Linked DNA regions of Homo sapiens: region 2 is linked to region 1. Evidence: promoter capture Hi-C in 16 types of primary human blood cells and fetal thymus (Javierre and others, 2016). All regions are on one chromosome and are shown on one strand. Each heading gives the region's core, a stretch centred on a gene start or on the middle of the fragment in contact. The rest is flanking DNA. Distances are from core to core; before and after follow the strand shown.

Evidence for each region. The method cuts DNA at HindIII sites, captures the fragments that hold promoters and counts their contacts. A CHiCAGO score of 5 or more calls a contact.
Region 2: a contact is called between a fragment that was not itself captured here and the fragment with the promoter of RPL37A in region 1, in 1 of 17 cell types (total B cells). The highest score is 5.4, in total B cells.

Annotation. Positions count from the first base shown.
Region 1 is chr2:216,496,835-216,500,815 of GRCh38, forward strand. It overlaps RPL37A (ribosomal protein L37a), which reads left to right and starts at 2,010. Exons shown (of 4, transcript NM_000998.5): 1 at 2,010-2,043; 2 at 2,436-2,564; 3 at 3,115-3,197. The coding sequence starts at 2,041. It overlaps RPL37A-DT (RPL37A divergent transcript), which reads right to left and starts at 1,918. Exons shown (of 4, transcript NR_183317.1): 1 at 1,773-1,918. RefSeq lists enhancers at 1,427-1,516, 1,697-2,086. The HindIII fragment of the contact is 3,327 bases long and covers 834-3,981 here.
Region 2 is chr2:213,238,546-213,242,684 of GRCh38, forward strand. No RefSeq gene overlaps it. Among named protein-coding and RNA genes, the nearest start is that of SPAG16-DT, 44 kb to the right of the region's middle. The HindIII fragment of the contact is 1,936 bases long and covers 341-2,276 here.

The DNA of each region.
Region 1 (3,981 bases), core at 760-3,259:
CAAGTTTCTTAACTTCCCTGAGATGAGTTTCTTTTTTCTTTCTTTTTTTGTTTTTGTTTTGAGAAAGGATCTCACTCTGTTGTCCAGGTTGGAGTGAAATGGTGTGATCATAGCTCACTGTAACCTCTGAACTCCTGGGCTCAAGCAATCCTCACGTTTCAGCCTTTTGAGCAGCTAGAACCACAGATGTGTGTCACCATACCTGGCCTATTATTTTTTTGTGTGTGTGGAGATGGGGTCTCGCTATATTGTCCAGGCTGCCTAGAACTCCTGGTCTCAAAGAATCTTTTCCAAGAGAGACTCTGTCTCAAAAAAAAAAAAAAAAAAAAAAAAAAAAGAAAAAGAAAAAAGAAAGAAAAGTATATAATAACTTGTCAGAGGTCCCACAGCTGGTAAATAGCAGAGTTCTGTTTTGAACCCATACTGAATCCAGAGCCTCTAAGTTCCTAATCATTACATGAGACTTCCTCTCTTTTTCTTAGTAATGAAGATAATAATCATTCCTATCATAAAGGATAATGGAAAATTAAATGAGAACATCCACATAAAATACTCAGTGCCTACCATGTGTTACCCTCCAACAATTGTAACCATATGAAGTACATAGCTGTTTGCAAGTTGCTTTGATTTGATTTGATTCATATATATTTTTTGAGACAGAGTCTCACTCTGTTGTCCAGGCTGGACTGCAGTGGCGTGATGACAGCTTACTGCAGCCTCAACCTCCCAGGCTCAAATGATCTTCCCACCTCAGCCCAGGTATGCAAGTTGACTTTAATACAATTGTGAGGAAAAGTGAACAGGTGCAAAATTATTTGAGACAGTTAATATTAAGCTTTGGGAACGGAAGCTACTTGTTACCGGACTTCTGATTGGAATCAGGGCCACACAATGCCTTTCAGCTCCCATGGTCTTTCTTGGCCCTCTAATCATGGATTCTCTCTTACACTCTTATTCCAGTAGTTTTCTGAGCTTCTTATTCTCTGGATTAGCCATCCCCTGAAAAAAGGCAACCAAACTTCCTAGTGTGTGTGTTCTACGTGAAGAAAGAAGATCATGTGTCTAGTTCCAGAACACACCCTCCCCACCCCCGGCCTCAACCAGAAATCCAATTCTTCCCTGCTGACCCCTTTGAGAGACCTGGAGGGACAGAGAATTGACGGTGGGTAAAGGGTAAGATGTTGGAGTTTAAGGGTTCAGGCCTGGACCAGGAAGCTGTCTTAACAGCCTAGTGTGGGGCCATGGAAGTGAGTTCTGAAATGAAGTGGAAGGCAGGCCATCCGCACTGAGATGCAGCAGCTGGAACACAAAACTCCAAGGTGACTGTTAACTTTTCCCCAGCCTTCCAATCTCAGACTTTCCTCAGGAAACACCAGGCTCTTCTGAATTAGTCGCGAGCAGAACCATCGTCCTTTCCTTCAGAACTCTGACCAGTTTGAAACTGTCTAACTTCTTAATGTGGCTATATGATCGTTTGCAGCTGGCCTGCAACTTGTTCTGGGAATGGAACCTTGGATTTTAGTCACCACTGTCGCTAGCATCCTGCACAGTCAGCCACTTTTAGAGAGCATAATGCAGAGGGGGAAATAAATGAGATTTGGAATAGAGACGGGGTTTCACCCTGCTGGCCAGGCTGGTCTCGAACTCCTGACCCACCCCGCCTCCCAAAGTGTTAGAATCACAAGCGTGAGCCACCGCGCCCGGCCCCACAAATGTAAGATTTATGCACTTCTCCAAGCCAAGTGCTGTGCATCGAATGGAGGAACTCGTACCTTTGCAGGATTTTGTGATATATGTGAAATAATCCGGACATGCTTCTGCTATGGTTGTTTGTCGCCATAGTTTGCGAATCTGGGTAAACCTGGATGAGAGAGACGCCTTACAATTGCAAACATTTCTCAGGAGGCCGCCTGAAAACGCCCAAACCATAGAGCTCAGTTCCTAGCTAGGCCTCTACCAGCCACTTCCGCTCGTCCGCCTAATACCGCGCCTGCGCACCGCGTCTCTTCCTTTCTGGGCTCGGACCTAGGTCGCGGCGACATGGTGAGTGTGGGTCTCTGTGCGGCCTAGAACTCTATCTGCCTGCATCTGTCCTTGTTTTCTTCTCCCGCACCCATCTCCTCTCCTGCCTTACCCCGTGTTCTCTCCTGTCTCCATGCCTTTGCAGGAGACACCATTGTCGGAAGCTCCCCAAGGCGGAGGGGCGGGGGCGCCTTGGCTGGGCCTGGCGCGCTCCAGCCGGGTTAACGCCGGGCCTTCGGAGCGCGCGGCCAGCCCTGGGCACTGGTTTCGTTGGGTTGAATTTAGGGAAAACTAGGTCATATGTAATTCACATGTCGGTCACACGTCAGTGAGGTGGAGGAACGGTGTGTGGAGGCTCCAGGGCCTGCCTGGGTTCCAGGTCTATCACTGGTTTCTCCCTTCACTCTAAACAGGCCAAACGTACCAAGAAAGTCGGGATCGTCGGTAAATACGGGACCCGCTATGGGGCCTCCCTCCGGAAAATGGTGAAGAAAATTGAAATCAGCCAGCACGCCAAGTACACTTGCTCTTTCTGTGGCAAAGTAAGTAAGGCAAAGTCTCTGGTGAGAGGAGAGGGAGGGCAGGTTTCTTACCCAAGTGAGGCCTGACTTCAAGGTATTTTATAAGCCGTGTGCTGGTGGGCAGTTGGAATTACTCATACCGTTGATTATGAGTTTTAAGATAAAAGTGTTGATGGTAACTTCAGATTTTGTGAGACGTTTTTCATTTAAAGAAAACCGCTTAAACGTTAATGGGTAAAATAATCATTTGACAGAGTGCCCCCAGCCTAAGCCAAACCTGCTTTGTGGGAAATGATTCCATCAGTTTTGTCTACTGATGTTTCTGCACCAACTCCCAAGATGTCTGTGCATCTAATACCATTCTACTTGTTCTGCGAGGGATTTTTGTTTGATAAAGGTTTGAACGTTTATGTGCAAAATACTGCATTACAGCAATCCCTGTTTTGTTTTTGAGGGAGAAAGGGAGGCTTTCACATCCCTGACAATAAGGTGAATCCAAATTTAGACTTCTGGATGCTTGTAAGAGAAAATACTTACTTGGTTCATAGTGAAAATTGGTTCTCTTTTATAGACCAAGATGAAGAGACGAGCTGTGGGGATCTGGCACTGTGGTTCCTGCATGAAGACAGTGGCTGGCGGTGCCTGGACGTACAAGTGAGTCTAGTTCCTTGTGGTATTTGGAAGTGTGTGGACCACATAGGCCCAAATTCCAGGTTGCTGCTGGATGGGCTAGTTTTAACACTTTCTCAGGACTGAGAGAATAAGGATGCCTTTGTATTTTCAGGATTCTTCCGTGGTGGTTTATTTTCAGTTATTGAAAGAGTAAACACAAAACTACCAAAATAGAAGTCGGAAATCTAATTCACAGACTACTTTAGAATTTGATGGTCACTGGGCACATTGTTGTGAACATTGTCATGATACTGTGCAGGTCCATTAGTGGGGCTGAATCTACTGAACGTTGATTTGCACTGCAAGTTTTGATAAAAATAGGTGAAGGGGTCAGTTAGTTCAAAACTGTATTTGGAACTTGAGGCCATCAGGACCACCACAGTTTCGTCTTTCTGAACAGTATTAGACTGCTGCAGGTTTGTGAATCTGCAACTCAGTATCACCTGACAGGGCGATACTACAAACACTATACTACAAACTAGCATCTAGACCTGTGTTGTCCAATACACTAAGCACATATATGGCTAGTGTAATTAAAGAATTGGATTTTAAAGTTTCAGTCAATTTAAACTTAAACCGAAGCAGTGGAAAATGTTGAAATATATATATATTCCTTGTGGGGGTTTTTATTAGGGCAGAATGGAAAATGGGAACTAGAGTGCTTTCTTGGTTCTGATAGGAAAGTGAATTATTTATATACTTACAATACAGGATGGTGATTTTCAGGTATAGTTCCTGAATTTTATGGTAAAACTTTTGTAGTCAT
Region 2 (4,139 bases), core at 59-2,558, 3.3 Mb before region 1:
ATTTCTGCACTTTGATAGCTGATATATCCTAACTGCATTTGTCTCATGATTTAATGGTAAAATTTTTTATTTTCCATTAAGGTCAGGAATTTTAGTTTTGGACAATTTTTTTTTTTTTAAGAATTGCCTTCCTGGTTCCACTTTGACTCCATTACTAAATGAACATTTAAAAACTTTCTTTAAAAAAAAGCAAAAAAGAGCAAAACAAAAGAAAAACAGAAAAGCCCCTGCAGATTTCAAAAACTCTACTGAAGAAAAAAAGCAACAATGAAAGTCCTCTACTGATAACAAAAAGGGAAAACACCAGTTTGCTTGAGGAGCTAAGCTTTAGTATAACACAAGCTTACGAGCCCCTTCTAAAAAAAGTGGTCAAATGAAAATGCTTCAGAGATTGCTGGTGTATTCTTGAGAAAAAAACAGTTTGGTTGAAAGAACAGTTGCTTTCTGACTTCTGCTAAAAAGTTGAATTCCAACATAGTTGTCAGATGAAACTGTACAATCCAAATCTCCTCTTATTGACAATGGAATCTGGTTTTGGGTAAGTGACTTTATTACTCATCTGTTAGTTATTCTTTGAACAAAAGCAGTCTTGTTGCTCAACCTAAAATCGGAACAGATAAACGTGTAATACCCTTTGCACTGGGACTTGGGGTGTTGCCAAAGCCATGTTAAGAATTCAAGACTAAGTGCCATAATATTAAAGGCAGAATATCAAATTCATTCACACTTAAGGTTCATAAGCTGCAAAAATACACAAGTAATTCCTTCTCCTGAGATAACTCCATTTTAAACTTTTCTATAGTTACCAAACTGGAAAGTTTAGTTTTTCTAAAACCAAGCCATCATGTGCCTTATTGACACAAGGACAGCCAGAAATAACTCACACTAGAAAAATGGAGATTGTTTCAGAATATTATGAAATGAGACAAAATGGTCATATTTATTACACAGATTAGAATGAACTATCCACATAAAGAAGAGAAGCAGTTTGTTCCTAGTATGCGTGTTGTCAATAAATGAAAGAAACAGATGTAAACACCAAGTTCTCACATAGGTACAAAACCGAGGTGGATTTCTTACTCTACATATTTTGAAATCAGGAACAAGTATGAAGGCTTATTTTTATAACAGAACAATATTAGTTGCCAGGATTTTAGTTTTGATTTAAGAATAATTACATATTTTAAAATAGAATAAAAAAGACAAATACTATTAGTTAGTTGTTGGCTCTATTTTTATATGACTTTATGTAATAACATTCGGTTAACTTTAACTTTAACTTAAAAAAAATACTAAGCCTGCAAAATAAGTGAATGTTCAAAGGTAAAACTCTCCTTTGAGGCTGGGTGCGGTGGCTCACGCCTGTCACCCCAGCACTTTGGGAGGCTGAGGTGGGTGGTTTGCTAGGTCAGAAGTTCGAGACCAGCCTGACCAACATAGTGAAACCCCGTCTCTACTAAAAATACAAAAATTAGCCAGGCATGGTGGCTCATGCCTGTAATCCCAGCTACTCAGGAGGCTGAGGCAGGAGAATCTCTTGAACCTGGGAGGTGGAGGTTGCAGTGAGCTGAGATCGCACCACTGCACTCCAGCCTGGGCAACAAGAGCAAAGCTACGTTTCAAAAAACAAACAAACAAACAGACAAAAAACTCTCCTTTGAGAGAGCATTGCTTAGTACTCACAGGCTATTCTTTTTGGACACTTATACTTTAAAATATCGTTATTTTTGTAAGGCTCCTATTTATACATATTGCATAGAATATACAGATATGCATCAAGACATCGTAAAAAATATATAATTGGAGAAATATTTGTTAGGTGAAAATCAATAGTCATTTAAAAGTGAAACATATATTTATACACACATGTACACACACATATATTATATATTTATATACGCTCCCAACAACCCAAGAGAAATTAAAAATAGCATGCATTTTTCATTTGAATTTGTTTTGCCACACTATTTGGTTATTGAATCTCTAAAAATAGTAGATATTAAAAAAAGTTTATTGAATATTCAAAACTCAATAAACATACTTAAGTTTGACATACTAAAATAGTGCCTAACATTTAAGAGTGATTTTATTTATTTTCAGATCTCATGGATTAGTGTTTAAAACTGTGTTACTTTTATCTTAAAACCATTGTGCCAATGTAGCTCAGTCTATCTATAATTGAAAACATTTTAATTGAAAGATGATCCTTGTTCTTAAACAACATTGACCAGTGGCCTTTCCAACTTATGGAGATCTCCAGAACATAAAGAAAAGAAAGCTTACTTTAATTAAATAATATAAGTCAGCACAGTACCTTGTCTGCCTTATATGCTTAGCATCTTTCTACAACAGGTAATGATAATTTTCCCCTAATAACTGAGGTCAACAGTAGCAAATTCCAGTGCCTCTGCAGCCAGGCATGTAAGTAACCTCTGCAGTTGCTAAGTTGGTGTGGGAATTGAGATGAGAGGTTGGTATACTCTGCTTACAGGTATTTAAATTTAGTCTACATTTTTCTCAAACACTGTTCACCAGTGTTTTGCTTTCCTAACATTTTAGGCAGAGGGGCTAAATGAAAACAACAGTTGTTCTACAGTGACCTCTGTGAAAGATAAGAACAGAATGACTTGGTTAGTTTGTTAATGCAAATTCTCATCCATGCTTGGATATTCTAACTCTGTAGACCCAGGAACCCATATTTTTAGACACAGACAAGTTTATATTTCTAAGAATCTATTGTTAAAAATATACAAACGATTAAAAAATCAGATACATACTTTAAAAATAATCAATCAGAAATGACTGGCAAGTGACTGAAGATGCAGGGTTTGCTGCAATAAGAGGTATCAGATGTGAAGCAATCCTGATGTTTTAATATTGGCCAGCTATACACATTCCTATCTATTGTATTTGTTGTATATGGCTTATGGTTTTTTAAGATATAGGTGCAGTAAACAGTAGAGATCAAGAAAAAAAGTGTTTTGAGTTAAGTAGATTAATACAAATAAATCCTGAATGGTGACTGCTGATTTGTTTCAGTTCTTTTGATGTATTTTCACTTGTTTAAATGAGAGCTCCTAGAACAGATATTGGTTACAGATACTGGCACTTAACTTAGAAGCACATGTCATTGAATGACCTATGGGAAATAAACTTTTACCATGCTTTTAGAACTGATATTAGCAAGCAGTTGTCTAAGCTATATTTTTTCTCTGAATCTGCTAATTTTCATGACAACTATATTTGGTCAAGAAAATATACTATTGAAGTGATGCAACACTTCATCACTTTTCCCCCCATCTGACCTGTTTGCCTTGTTGCAACAACATTTTCAGTTTTATACCCGCAGACCATCATCCCATGCGTAGACCCTGATATTTGAAGTCAATGTTATTTCAACAACTGCATGGTTCGCGAAGGCTAGGGCGGGACGTGGAGACCCTACAAAACACTGGCTGTATGATGAGGAGAGATTCAGCAGCAAGTGGAGACCAGGTAGATAGGCAAATCTCAGAATCAAGAGGGTTTTGGCAAGAAACATTAGCCAGAAATCTATGCAGTGTAAGAGTCAAAGGGAAGAAGGTAGCTATGGACATTGGGGCTTAGAAGAAAATCTGAAGTATTAAGCAAGTGTTAGAAGAATAAGTCTGCATCTTAGTCCTAGAGCAACTACAATCCTGGATGAGAACCAAAGCAGAAGTATGGGCAGAAAGGCAGAGACCAGAATCCTCGACCAGGAGTGGGGACAAAATATCTGGTCTTAAGTGTCAAGAAGCTAAGTTTTAGAAGCTGGGTTTAAGGTCAGAATGAGACTTGATTCTGAGCTTACTCCTGGGATTCTTACAATCTTCCTGTCTAGCACCAAAGATCTGTTCCAATATCAGATACTAGAAGTCAGAGAATTTAGTTGACCTGTTCAAGATCACAAGCTAATTAGTGCTGGGGACAAAATTAGATTCCAAGTTTTCAATTCTCACACCAGGGCTCATTAGAACATGATCTGAATGAATCAGAAATGCAGATAGATATATTTAATTGTTTTTGATATGTTCATTTGTCACTACTGTTTCATAACTGCAAAGAGAATTAAAAATTTAGATCAGATTATGGAACAGATAAATTGAAGTAATTCATAGACC